Regions from separate parts of the Homo sapiens genome. Here region 2 is linked to region 1. Evidence: promoter capture Hi-C in human tissues and cell types (Jung and others, 2019). All regions are on one chromosome and are shown on one strand. Each heading gives the region's core, a stretch centred on a gene start or on the middle of the fragment in contact. The rest is flanking DNA. Distances are from core to core; before and after follow the strand shown.

Region 1 (7,145 bases), core at 3,843-6,342:
GGGGCCGCCTCTAGGTCCTGTGTTCCTTCTGTTCCCCGTCGAGGGTCATTCATTAAGAAAGCACAGCGAGTGCTGGGAGATAGCATGACGTCAACTGTCTGTTTGTGAAGTGTTTTTCTTGCTCGCTAGTGGATAGTGTGAGATCAGAGTGGAAATTGGAGATGACCTGAGCACTGAGGAGTTAAGGAAGGAGAGCAAGCAACAGGGTGATTCTGGTGGAAAAGTGGAGCAAGGGAGTTGGTTTGGCATTTCTGGATTCTTTTCAGGTCTCCCACACCATCTTTGTAGTTTTCGGCAGGATCACAGAGCTATCTTGGCCCTCACATTTTATTTTTTTATTTTTATTTTTATTTTGTTTTATTTTTAGACAGGGTCTCCCTCTGTGGTCCAGGCTGGAGTGCAGTGGCGTGATCATGTCTCACTGCAACCTTGACCTCGGGGGCTCAAGTGTTCTTCCTGCCTCAGCCTCCCTCTCTCTCTCTCTCTCTCTCTCTTTTTTAAATCTATAGAATTAGTTGAATCAGACTAAGGTTACTTTCAAGTCTATTATGTTATGAGGTCAGTACTTAACAAAGTAAGGTATGTCTAATAATTTCTTTATTAATAATAACTGAACCTCACAGCCAGGTTATTATAATTGCAAAGAATTAAACCAGAGACTTTGGGGGATTCCACATAGGATAAGACCACAGCACAGGCGCTCTTCCTCCAGTGCTCAGGGTTCTATTTTGTTTTCTCCTTCACTGGGATATCTTTTTTACTAATACTTGGAATTCTTCAAAACTAACTTCTCCATCTCCATTCTTGTCCAGTTCTTGAAAGAGATCATCTAGGGTGTTTGGACCCTGTTTTACATAAAAAAGGATGGGAGAAGGGAGGGGAGAAAAAATGAATCAGTTACTGCTACACATTCTCAGAAATTAGAGGCCTTGGGGTCTGTGTGCCAAGAAGGCAGCTCAGGTTTCCAGTGACATGCATCTAATAGCTAACAGAGAGAAACCAGCTTTAGCTGTTGTATTGCTCCGTGTCATAGAACTGGCTACCTTTTTGTCCTCCATATCACACATCTGTTATTTTAATACAATGCGTATTTTAATACAGTTGTTTTCTTATGCGATCTTGGGTCTTTTTCTTTATGCCTCTAAAAACATTCTTCTGAGAAGGGATCTGTGGGCTTCACTGGATTGCCCACGGCACACAAACAGTTGAGGACCCCTGCCCCAAGGTTTTCCTGGAAGCTGGGTTTGTCTCCTGCTCCAGGGCTAGGGCTGACATATTACATGAGGCAGCAGGCAGGGAGGGCTCCTTCTGTAATCCTTCCGACCACCCTATGAGGGAGATCTACTTTACAGGTGGGGAAACAGGCTCAGAGACAGGCAGTCACTTACTTGAGTGTCCACAGCTGGTTAACAGAGGGGTTGGGGTCCACACGTTGACTCCAGAGCTCAACCCCTTAACTAACCACCGCCCAGTTTTTCCCAAACGTTGAGCTATGCAAAATGACTTTGGCTCAATGGTTCCCATGCTTTAGCATGCATCAGAATCACACGATAGGCTTGCTGACCTTAGTAAATACAGACTGCCAGCCCCACCTCCAGAGTTTCTGATTCACTAGGCCTGGGGTGGGGCCCGAGAATCTGTACACAAGGTCTTGCTCTGTCACCCAGGCTGGAGTGCAGTGGCATGATCACAGCCCACTGCAGCTTCCACCTCCTGGGCTCAAATGATCCTCCTGCCTCAGCCTCCCGAGTAGCTGGGACTAAAGGCGTGTGCCACCACACCTGGCTAATTTTTTAAAAGTTTTAATAGAGACAAGGTCTTGCTGTGTTGTTCAAGCTGGAGAATCTATATTTTCAACAGCTTCCCAGGTGGTGCCAATGCTGCTGCTCTGGGACCACACTTGGAGAACCACTGCTTGAGATGTCGTGTGAGATCGTGTGCAGGCTTTTTGACTACTGGACTTCCTGCAGTGTCTTAAGTGGAGTTAATTTTTGTCTCTACCATAAAACTCTAATCTTAAAGCCATTACTACTTGGACTTTCAGGTAGGAGTCTATCTGTGCAAAATACTACTTAGAAAACCGATTGAAATAACAGTTCAGTTTGTCAGTTTCAAATTAGACTATATTATATATATATATGTATATATAAATTGTGGTAAAAAACACATAACATTGAATTTACGCTCTTAATCATTTTTAAGCATACAGTTCAGTAGTGCTAAGTAGATTCACAATTTTGTGCAGCACATCTCTATGGAAGATATATTTTAACCCCTAAGATTCCTACAAAAACACTTAGCACTTTGCTTTAATTACAAGACCAAACTGTAAGTTACTTATTCAGCCTTTGATTTATGAATATGAAACACTGTTTTCCTGAAGCCTTTACTAGATTCTAAACCATGCATGGTGATGATATATGTAAACAGAGTATGGTGGAAAACCTTAGTAATGGAAACCTTATGGGAATATAATCAGGTACATGTTAAGTAGACTTTCAGAACTTACCATTAGTCTTCCTACCTCGTTCCAGATTATGTCTTACGTACTTTTTGTAGGAAAGACATAAAATATAGAAAAAGTTACCCGTGTTACCTTTTGAAACAACTTGTTTGAGTACATGGCCTAGGCTTTCCTGTTAGATGATTATTTTTCTTCCTTTTAGAAAAAATAAAGGGTCTTTTAAAATTTTAAATTTTTTCACTAACTTGTTTTGCTGTTTAATTAAAAAGTCCCTTTTTCTGCTAGTGACTTTAAGTGTTTTTACAAGTTCTTCTATATTTCAACTATGAGAAAATGAGAAAATATCAGATTCTGGGGTCATTGAATTCAGCTTTTTTCTTTTTTAGTATTAAAAACAGAAGTCTTTCCAATTGTCATATTGGCAGAAGGGACATTTCTGGTTAAAATCTGGAGAGCTGGTTAAAATATTTGAAGAAATGTTCTTTCCTGAAGTTAGAGCTAAATAGTGACTGAGTCATACAAAACAATTCCATAGTCACTTCTGTTGTGAAGATGGTTTTTAATTGCAAAATGACAATGACTCTCTCCTTTGAGTCCTCTGCTCGACTAGGCCTGACCTTGGGCTTCCCTCTCTGTCCTTGTATCTGACTACCCTTAATATTTGATCACCTGGCCTGCCTTCAGCTAGAATCCTATCAAGGCAATTTAGCCAGAAGCTCCTTATCCTGGATATTTCCTTGGTAATTTTCCATCCACTGGCCCCCCCCATCCTGCTCTATGGTCATAAACCCCCACTTATCCTTTCTGGAGTTGAGCCCAATCTCTCTCCCCATGGCAAGAACACGTTTCAGTGGTCCCTGTATGGGTCGCCATGGCCCTCCTGGAGTAAGTTGCCTTACCATCCTTGGCAAGTGTCCTGACTCAGCTTTTTCTTTAGCAAAAGGAAAGACAGTACTGTATATTGGAGTGAGGACGATCAGCTCTTCTCTGTACTCTGTTGCCTTGAATGCATTTTGATTTTGACAACTCTGGGGTGATTTTGATGTGAAACTTTATGGCCCAGGAAATTTAGTCCTTTCTTGAAAGTTGTTTAGAAATGCACGGTTGCCTCATTAACACAAATTTAAGTGATGAACACAAATGTAAATGCTTTTGAAATATAAATGAGTGCTGACAAGGCAATTTGTCAGTGGGTTTTCCTAACAGACTGCTAAGTAAGTGTTGGTCTTGTTGAGGGATTTTACATACACAAATGAAGCCTGTCCAAGGCCAGCTAACACTATTTTGCAGTCCTCTTTGTTTTCCTAAAGCCTGGCACAGAAGTACTGAATCCATGCTGAAGGCCTTATTGGGTTTGCTTGGTGACTTGTGGGTCTTCCAGGCATAACTTGGCATTGCTTCCATTTATTATGGCTAGTCCTGCAGAGTCCTGTGCTGAGGCTGCAGGAGGGATAGAAGGCTTGGCCCTTGTTTTCTGAGAGCTTGCCTTCTGAAATGTGGCCTGACTTAAGGGGAAGAAACCCCACCTGCATGTGTCCTCCCTCAAGCGACGGTCCCTATAAGGCTCTACCGGAGTCCTCTCCCCTCCCTCCCTCCCCTCCCACCATCAGTCCCATTAAGTGGGCTCTGCGGATGGCCACTTACTTTGAGTAAACTGGGGAATTCAGCCTGAATCAATAGCTTCAGTTCATCCTTTGACAACTGGTCTGGATCACCTTCTTTGGCTGCATATTTTTCAAAAATCCTCTTCAGTTCCTCAGGAGACTTTTTAGTACTCATTCTGGTGTCTTATAAATTGGGAAGAAAATAAACTTACCAAAAAGCTGAAGTACAGTTTTGTGCTGAGGGTTGTCTGCAGGATTTTAGTGCCATTGGGCCATTTCCTTGGCATAAATGGGGAAGAATAAGGAAAAGAGAATGTCGGGGTCGGAATGGCACCAGTAACTACTAACATGTTTAAAAAATAAGCATCTTAGGCCAGGCACGGTAGCTCATGCCTGTAATCCCAGCACTTTGGGAGGCCAAGGAGGGTGGATCACTTGAAGTCAGGAGTTCGAGACCATGGAAGCCTGGCCAACATGGTGAGACCCTGTCTCTATACAAAAATTAGCCAGGCGTGGTGGTGCGTGCCTATAGTCCCATCTACTTGGAAGACCGAGGCAGGAGAATCGCTTGAACCCGGGAGGCGGAGGTTGCAGTGAGTGCGATGCCACTGCACTCCAGCCTGGGTGACAGAGCGAGCCTCCGCTGCAAAAAAAAAAAAAAAAAAAAAAAGACATCTTAGATAGTATGTTAAATGTCTGTTCTTAGAGTACATCTGTTAGGAGATGGTCCCTGGAGCCAAACATTTTTATTAGTAATTAATGACATTCTACACTTTTTATGTACCTGATCTGCACTCTGCAGGCTGTGGTCTTGAAGAATACTTGACCACAGCTTCTAGCTTCTAAGTTACAGGGAATATCTCCAGATGGCATAAACTCACCTTCTCTCCAGACCATTATCTTTCACACCATTCTAAAAGGAAGCAGAGTATTAATGCAAACAGAAGGAGCTCTAGGTAGTACCAAAATCACACTAACCTGGTTGCCCAATAGTGAAACAGCTAGAAGAATCAAAGAGGAGTTTGAAGAGCTGAGCAGAATCATGACACTTTTATAGTCTTTACGGGCACGCCACCCTGATTATGAAAATTTCCTTTTGTTGGCCATTTAAGGGTAATTATTAATGGTTTTTGAAACTCAGGCTTAAGACTGCATGAACCCCATAATTAAGGGCAAGATCCAGTAAAGGTCCATCTCGACAGTTGCTTCATGGTTCAGAGTCGTAAGCTTGGATTTTTTTCCCCCTGAGATTATATTTTCCCTCCAATGTAGAATTATATTTGCTCACAGTTCACATTTCATAAAGCTTAGATATAGAGGATTCTTTTCAATTTAGTTGCATATTTAGGCTTTAAAAAATAACTTTCTTCATATCCAGAAAAAATAAATGCTGCCCTGTGCGGTAGCTCATGCCTGTAATCCCAGCACTTTGGGAGGCCGAGGCAGGAGGATTGCTTGAGGTGAGGAGTTTGATACCAGCCTGGTCAACACAGCAAGACATTTCTACTGAAAAATTTAAAAAATCAGCCAGGTGTGATGGTACATGCCTGTAGTCCCAGCTACTGTAGAGGCTGAGGTGGGAGGATTCCTTAAGCCTGGGAGGTTGAGGCAACAGTGAGCCATGATTGTGCCACTGCACTCCAGCCTGGGTGACAGAGTGAGATCCTGTCTGTAAAAAAGAAAAAATGCTGTCATAGAAGGACAATATTACATAGTTTAAAAAATTACGGTATGGCCATTGAAGTCCTTCTGATGTCTTTACATATTAGCAGCTTAAATATTTGAATACATGAATGAATGAATGGAAGTATTGCTTCAGAAGCAGGTTTAAGAAGTGGAAAGAAGATACTCAGTAATTTGTGGTTTTATTTGGCAAATCAATATTGAGTAACATGGTCATTTTTTCAGCTCTTTCATTATTTGTTGGTCCTGTGTCTGCTTTTTATTTCTCATTATCCTTTTCCTTACCAAATATATTTCGTGATCATTCGAAAAACTTGTGAGAACACTCGACTTACTCTTGTTCAGTTGGAAATACTTCAAACTTTTTGTAACTGCCATGATTTAAAATTGCCAAGGAGATTGATTTCTACTGGAAAGAGTTCCATGAAATAAGTAGGACATTTCCAAGGGACATTGATCTAATGCTGATTGTAACTCACAGGAAGGGGTTCCAGGTGGATTTTAAGAGCACTTTACAGCTTTGAAACACTTGTACACTTCCACACTTATAGAATTTTCCCTGACTCTGCCTTATATCACCTACAAACTGAGGACTGGACTATTGGGACTGTATTTCTCCCTGATGTTTCTCAGCTCTAAAATTCTAGGGCCTTATTTACATTGGAGAACAAATGGGAAATCTAATAGAATTCCTTAAAAGCTTCCCGCCAGTCTTGAGCATTTATCATTCCATGTGTCTTTGCTGTCTTGTATATATTCTTCTTGTTTTTATTATGGATTCTTTGACTTTGCTATGCACCAATATAGAATATGTATTAACTCACTGGTTGGAGTAAAGACAGGCATTTTATTTTTAGTTATAAGATTTTACACAAAAATATTCTGATTTTGGCAATGCATTTTAATCAAGATTTTAGAAAATTGCCAGTGTTTTTACACATATGTTCTGTTTTCCTGGGAGGAAGTAGGCGTTTGTGCTTAATCATAACAAGAACTATCTTTTTTTAAACATCTTTTAAAAAATATTTCAGATCTACAGAAAAGTGGCAAGAATAGTGCAATGAACACCAGTCTGCCTTTCGACTAGATTCACTAATTGCGAACATCTCCACATTTGCTTTCTCTTTCTCTGGACAGATACTTTCCTCCACCCCTGAGTCATTTGAGAATCAATTACAAACATCCAGATGCTTCCCCCCTGAGCACCTCAGCATCTGTCTCCTAAGGACAAAGACATTCTCCTATGTAACCACAATGCCATTATCATAGCCCACGTCAAATCTCTCCAATTGTTGAATAGCATCTTAAATCATCTTTTCTCTCAAATTACCACTAGTGAGCTAAAATCAAATGGGGTGTTTATTATGTTTTGCATCTGGTTTTTTTGTTTATTT
Region 2 (7,519 bases), core at 815-3,314, 37 kb after region 1:
AGGGCATACTCTAATGGTAATAGACTGACAGGGAAACCCAGAAAGGCCTGTCTGCTCAGATTCTTCTTGGCCTTTCTGTGTAGCATCCCATTCCCCCAGGTCTAGAGCAGGACTCATCTGGAATGAGGGTCTTATGACCTACTTTCAGGAAAGGTAGGTCAGATAATTTATTTATAGCCAGCTTTCACATGGAAAGGCGGGGGAAACATCACAGTGACCTTCTTGCTTTGGAGGTCTTCCCAGTCACCTTCAGTTCAAACTACTTTAGGGTAGTATTTTCTGAGCTCCGACAACAGCAACACTCATTCATTTATGTCTTGTCTATGGCTGCTTTTAATTTTTATTTTTTTTGAGACAGGGTCTAGCTCTGTCACCCAGGCTGGAGTGCAGTGCCATGATCATGGCTTACTGCAGCCTTGACCTCTTGGGCACAAGTAATCCTCCCACCTCAGCCTCCCAAGGAGCTGGGACTGCAGGTGTGCATCACCCTGCCTGGCTACTTTTTTTTTTTCTTGAGATGAAGTCTTACTCTGTTGCCCAAGCTGGAGTGCAGTGGCGCGATCTTGGCTCACTGTAACCACCACCTCTCAGGTTCAAGCAATTCTCCTGCCTCACCCTCCCGAGTAGCTGGGACTACAGGCATGTTCCACCATGCCCGGCTAATTTTTGTATTTTTTAGTAGAGATGGGGTTTCACTATGTTGGCCAGGCTGGTCTTGAACTCCTGACCTCGTGATCCGCCTGCCTTGGCCTCCCAAAGTGCTGGGATTACAGGCATGAGCCACGACGCGCAGCCAATTTTAAAATTTTTTTTGTAGCGGCAGGTTTTTGCCATGTTGCTCAGGCTGGTCTCACCTGGGCTCAAGGCCTCTTCCTTCCTCAGCCTCCCAAAGTGCTGGGATTACAGGCATGAGCCACCATGCGCAGCCAATTTTTAAATTTTTTTTGTAGCGGCAGGGTTTTGCCATGTTGCTCAGGCTGGTCTCACCTGGGCTCAAGGCCTCTTCCCTCCTTAGCCTCCCAAAGTGCTGAGATTACAGGCATGAGCAACTGCACCTGGCCCATGGCTGTTTTTTATGCTACCATGGCAGAGATGAGTAGTTAAGAAAGAGACCTTATGGCTCACAAAGCCTGAAATATTTACCTTTTATAGAATATTGGCCCTTTACAGAAACATTTGCTAACTCCTGGGCTAGACTCACACATATACACTTCATTTAACTAACTTGAATTTAACATTTTCACGTGCCTCCTTGACCTGTTTGTGTATTTGGATGTTGTGTTGCCACTTCCATCTCAACTTATTTAAAACTAAATTTACATGGTCTCCCAATTAGTTCATTCTCCTGTTTCTGTTAAGATATCATCAATATCCTTGTCCAGGGTTTCTCAGCCTTGCCACTATTGATTGACATTTGGAGTGGAATAATTCTTTGTCGTGGAGGCTGTCCTGTGCACTGTATAGCAAGCTTGTCCAACCCACAGTCCGTGGGCTGCATGCAGCCCAGGGTGGATTTGAATGTGGCCCAACACAATTTCGTAAACTTTCTTAAAACATTATGAGATTTTTTTGCAATTTTTTTTTAAGCTCATCAGCTATCATTAGTGTTAGTGTATTTTATGTATGGTCCAAGACAATTCATCTTCTTCCAGTGTGGCCCAGGGAAGCCAAAAGATTGGACACCCCTGTTGTAGAGTGTTTGGCAGCATTCCTAGCCTCTACTCACTGCCACTATCATCCCTACCTCCCACGTTGTGACAACCCAAAATATCTCCAGACATCATCAAATGCCCCTGGAGAGCCAGGTGCAGTGGCTCACGCCTGTAATCCCAACGCTTTGGGAGGCGAAGGTCGGAAGATCACTTGAAGCCAGAAGTTCGAGACCAGCGTGGGCAACATAGTGAGATCCTGTCTCTACAAAAAACTAAATAATTAGCTGGGCATGGTGGTTCGTGCCTGTGGTCCCAGCTACTTAGGAGGCTGAGGTAGGAGGTTGAGCCTGGGAAGTTGAGGCTGCAGTGAGCCATGATCATGCCACTGCACTTCAGCCTGGGTGACAGAACAAGACCCTATCTTAAAAAAAAAAAGGCAAGTCCCTGGGGGGCACATTTGGTGGAGAACCATTCTCCTAGACTATCAGGCTAGAAATTTCACATATTAGCTCTTCTTCCCCTTCAGATCCCAACTAGCAGTGTGTTGTCAAGTCCTGCAGATTCTGCCTCTGGAAAGAAAGCTGGTGTTTAGAATTGCACTGCCATCCCTAGAACACTAGTCCCAGTGCATGCCAACTCCAGCTCACACTTGTCCTCAATCTCCTTCCTGCTTCCAAGCCATCCCTTCTCCAATACCTCCTAACAAGAACAGAACTCTGCAGTGTGTGACACTAATTTGTTGGATAAACCACTCTCATATATTGAGTACTAAGGGTGTGCAGGATACTGTAAAAATGGTACCGTGATGTTCCAGAACCTGCATTTCCAGCCTATATGCTTTAGGCTCCAGATAAATTGGATTGCCTGTGCGTCTTCTAACCTCCCTCTTCTTTCTCCGTCTTAGCTCATATCACTATTCTCCATTTCAAATGCCTTTTCTCTGTCTCTTTTCCTTTTTGTCTCTAATCTGTTCAAGTACTTCCAGAGTCCCGAGCAGAGGGGAGAATTGAAGTCCAAGAAGGCTCCTTTGAACGTTGTAGCATTTTACCTAGACCTGAAAGAAGGAAAGCAATGGACATTCAGTGTGCACTTACTGGATGCTTGTCACTAGACCTCTTGCTAGGGACTTTGCATACCTTATGTAACTAACAAAGCAGATGATGCTATTCCCACTTTACAGAGGACACCGGAGTGCAAAGAGGTTAAATGACATGCCCAGGGCCATCCAGCTAGTCCTTTGCAGCAAGAGCAAACCCAGTTGGTTACCTCCTTCTGCCACCACTGCTGTGGGATTTCATTGTTTCTCTTGTTTTCACGTTCTACCTAAGATGATCAATTCATGCCTAGAGTTTTGAATTAGAATAGTAAGTACGCATTTCCAGGAGTCTTTCTGATGGAAATGCCCATCATTTAGAATTAAAGTGTGGATCGCTGTTGGTATTGAAGCCTCTTAAATCTTCCTAGCATGTGAGAAGGCAGAAAATTTCTTAAGCAAATTACTATTTGTTTACTTTGTTTAAGTACTTATTCACTTTTAATTCTTCTGGTTGTCATTATTGTCATCAAATACTTAGAAGGTTCTTTCATCATAAGGATTTAGATTCCCACTGGGGCTTTCAAATTTCATGTGGATTGAAAAGGAAATGAGAGCTGCTATAAAACCTTGCAGTTTTTAAAAGCGGACTGCAAGCAGTTATTAAGGAAAATTCCCCAGAAGATTTTGATCTTAGATACCCCTTGGAAACATATCCACGAATCTCCACTGTTCCTGAAGGGTTCTGAGAGGAACAACAAAGCTTGAGATTAATATTATATAATGTCAGAATTTGGTTTAAAGCAATCAACAGCATTATTTTAAAGATAATTTTATCTAACTGATAGAACATCATCAAAATAAAAACTTTTTACTTTCTCCTCATATTGGCATAGAGGATTTTTTGGATAAAGTGATTCAGAGCAATGATCCATTCATTCACATAGTCTGTCCCTGGCTATTACATGATTACATTGCTCAGCATCTGTCTGTAGTGATACAAAAGCACAGTTACTGTCTGCTTTTTTTTCAAAGATGTCCCTAGATGTTATGCAGTAAGATTTATTGTCTCTTAAATTTTAAGCTACATTGCTTAATTTCTTCTCTAAGTGCGGATGATTTCTCTGCGTTTCTTGAGGGAATACATTCCTGGGAGAAGGTGGCATTCCCCTTATCAGGCTTTCTTACCTGCATATTCCTCTAATTCAAGGAGGTTTCTTCTTAGATGTAGAGGATTTCTACACTGGATTTTTCTGGGATCAGAGCTGTCCTATAGAACTCACTGGATTTTTCTGGGATCAGAGCTGTCCTATAGAACTCACTGCAATGATAGAACTAGTCCACCCTATCCAATATGGTAGCCACTAGCCACATGTAACTTTGAACATGTTTCAAATGCTGAATTAATGTTAATGAATTTAAGTAGCTACATATGGCTAGTGGCTACCATTTTCTATAGCAGAGCTTTTTTTTTTTTTTTTTAATAATTTCAACTTTCATTTTGGATGCAGGGAGTACATGCGCAGTTTTTTTTGTTTGTTTGTTTTTGTTTTTGAGATAGGGTCTCACCCTGTCACCCAGGCTGGAGTGCAGTGGTATTATCATGGCTCATGGCAACCTCCACCTCCTGGGCTGAAGCGATCCTCCCATCTCAGCCTCCCAAGTAGCTGGAACCACAGGTGCACGCCACCACGCCCAGCTAATTTTTGTATTTTTTGTACAGACAGGGTTTCACCATATTGCCCCGGCTGGTCTCGAGCTCCTAGGCTCAAGAAATCTGCCCACCTTGGCCTCCCAGAGTGCTGGGATTACAGGCATGAGTTACTGTGCTTGGCCCACGTGCAGATTTGTTACATGGTTATATTGTGTGATGCTAAGGTTTAGGGTATGGATCCCATCACCCAAGTACTGACTAGAGTACCCAACAGATAGTTTTTCAACTCTTGCACTCCCCTTTCCTTCCTCCCTCTGGTAGTTCCCAGTGTCTATTGTTCCCATCTTTATGTCCATAAGTACCCAATGTTTAGCTCCCATTTATAAGTGAGAACATGCAGTATTTGGTTTTCTGTTTCCGTGTTAATTCGTTTAGAATAATGGCCCCCAGCTGCATCCATGTTGCTGCAAAGGACATGGTTTCGTTTTTATGGCTGCATACTATTCCATGGTATATATGTGCCACATTTTCTTTATCCATTCCACCATTGATAGGCATCTAGTTGATTCCATGGCTTTGCTATTGTGAATACTGCTGCCATGAACATGTAAGTGCATGTGTCTTTTTTGTAGAATGATTTATTTTCCTTTGGGTATATACCCAGTAATGGGATTACTGAGTTGAATGGTAATTCTGGTTTAAGTTCTTTGAGAAATCTCCAAACTGCTTTCCACAGTGGCTGAAATAACTTACATTCCCACCAACAGTATGTTTTCTTTTCTCCACAGCCTTGCCAGCATCTGCTGTTTTTTGACTTTTTTAATAATAGCTGTTCTAGCAGGGCTTTAAATGATTACCTTAAGAAAGTAGACATTTGCATTCAATCATCATTTCCTTATTACTGTAGTAGTAGCTTTGGATCTTTGCTGGTAAGTGATGGGAATTTGTGATTTTGAATTCCATACTAGATTTTAGATCATTTGATAAAGCACCTCATTGAAAGCTTTAAAGTTATATTTACTTCCCCCTCTTAAACTTATTATATTTTATTATCTTTAGTTTGAGTCATAGCCAGGGACAGGATATTTGAATGAATGGATCATTGCTCTGAATCACTTTGTTCAAAAAATGCTCAGTTTTGTGGTGCTATGAGTAATACCCAACTTAAAGCTGTGACTAGAAAAGCAATTGTCCTCGTTGGGTTCCCAAGGGTAGCCCAATGGGTTGATATTGTGCTGGTTTATCCCAGGGGACACTTACCCTGGGAAAGGAGAAGACCTTGCAGGAAATGGCCTGAAGCCACCTAAAGAAAGAAAGACCCAGGGTTAGCCTAAAGTCCAAGGGAAATTGAACCAACATAAATCTACAAAGTGCCTTCAAAAAGCAGGCAGATTTGGGGAAAGTGGAATTCTTCTTGCCATTCAAAAATTTTTGCTTGACTTTGCTCACTCTGACACCTTCCGCACATAAAATTTCCAAGATGTGTTTTACAATTTGAAATTCCACGAAGGAATGGATGGATAGTGAAAGTAACTGGCTGTAATGATAACAGGTTAAAGAATCATCTTACCATTTAATGAGTTTTCATATTCAAAGATAAGAAGATCTTTAAAGCAGTTCTCCTGTTTGTCTGCTTTAATCGCATCGTGATTGTTCTCATTTCAGATCATCCTTATTTTGTTGGTGTCCAGTTCCATCCTGAGTTTTCTTCTAGGCCGATGAAGCCTTCCCCTCCGTATCTGGGGCTGTTACTTGCAGCAACTGGGAACCTGAATGCCTACTTGCAACAGGGTTGCAAACTGTCTTCCAGGTAACCAGCTTACTGCTCTTAGCAATAAACCAAGATGCATAGTTATTAATATCTTAGGGTTTCTTACAAAAATTAATACCACTATAGAATTTTTAAATGTGAAGAATCAGTTTTTTTCTCTTAAACATAATTTTCTTCTCTTTGTGAAAATGATTTAATCACACCTACGGTAGTAATGTGTCAGCTTTCCAAATCGTGATGACACTGGGTATTATTTTAGAAATTTTTTTCATTTTGATAAGTGAAAAGATTGTCTTTTGTTGATTCTTTGATTAATATATATGAATTTTTATATGTTTATTGGCTGTTTGTTTTATGAATAGTTTGTTCATATCTTTTCTTCATTTTGGTATTGTATTATTTTCCTTACTGATTGGTAAGCTCTTTATGTATAAAGGTCATTAATCCTTTGTTAGGCTGCAAATATTTTTCAAAGTGATTTTGCTTTCCTTCTAAATTGTTAATGGTAGTTTTGTTCTCCCTAAAGAGTTTAGTCCTTTTTTATGTTTTTTAAAAATGTATGTAGTCAAATATTTTACTTTTGTGGCTTCTGCCTTTACTCTCATGCCTAACATCTTTCCTTATGGAAAGATTATATAAATAATAACCCCTGTGTTTTCCTCTAGCATTTTTCTGGTTTCAATTTCATAGTTTAAATCTATAATCTATATGGATTTTATTTTCAGTGAAACCTGTGAGGTTGGGATTTGGCTCCCTACTTCCCTGCCAAATTGTCAACGAGTTGAGTAATTTGACTTTGTTTCAGGGATTTCTATTTTGTTCCATTGATGATTTTATCTCTTACACCTGAACCTTTGCCATCCTTTTCATTTTCATAGCATTATTATAAATCAGGACCTTATCGATCCTACTCCCACCATTATTAACATGTTTAGTGTGTTTTGCTATTCCTCCAGGCAAACTGTTATTTATTTATTATTTTCTTAGAGATAAGGTCTGGCTCTGTCACCCAGGCTGGAGTGCAGTAGCACAATCATAGCTCACTGCAGCCTTGAACTCCTAGGCTCAAGAAATCCTCCTGCCTCAGTCTCCCAATTAGCTGGGACTACAGGCACACACCACCATGCCTGGCTAATTTTTTTAATTTATTATTTTTGTAGAGACAAGGTCTCACTATATTGTCCAGGCTGGTCTTGAATTCTTGACCTCAAGCAATCCTCCTGCCTTGACCTCCCAAAGTGCTGGCATTATAGGTATGAGCCACTGTGCCCAGCCTGTACAATGCTTTTTAAAAATCAAGTTTGAATAAAAAATTCCTTAGGGATTTTAAAATTAAATTAAATTAAATTAATTTATTTATTTATTTAGGGACAGGGTCTTGCTCTGTTGCTCAGGCTGGAGTGCAGTGG

The links. The method cuts DNA at HindIII sites, captures the fragments that hold promoters and counts their contacts. A contact is called where the count stands out against the background at its distance.
Region 2: a contact is called between a fragment that was not itself captured here and the fragment with the promoter of S100G in region 1, in 1 of the 25 tissues and cell types used here (aorta).

The regions. Positions count from the first base shown.
Region 1 is chrX:16,648,105-16,655,249 of GRCh38, reverse strand. S100G (S100 calcium binding protein G) reads right to left here and starts at 5,092. Exons shown (of 3, transcript NM_004057.3): 1 at 5,047-5,092; 2 at 4,109-4,251; 3 at 580-845. The coding sequence starts at 4,243. The coding sequence ends at 741. All of the region lies in intron 13 of CTPS2 (CTP synthase 2), which reads left to right. The HindIII fragment of the contact is 15,470 bases long and covers 1-5,913 here.
Region 2 is chrX:16,608,171-16,615,689 of GRCh38, reverse strand. It overlaps CTPS2 (CTP synthase 2), which reads left to right. Exons shown (of 19, transcript NM_175859.3): 17 at 6,005-6,149. Among named protein-coding and RNA genes, the nearest start is that of MIR548AM, 15 kb to the left of the region's middle. The HindIII fragment of the contact is 4,662 bases long and covers 1-4,395 here.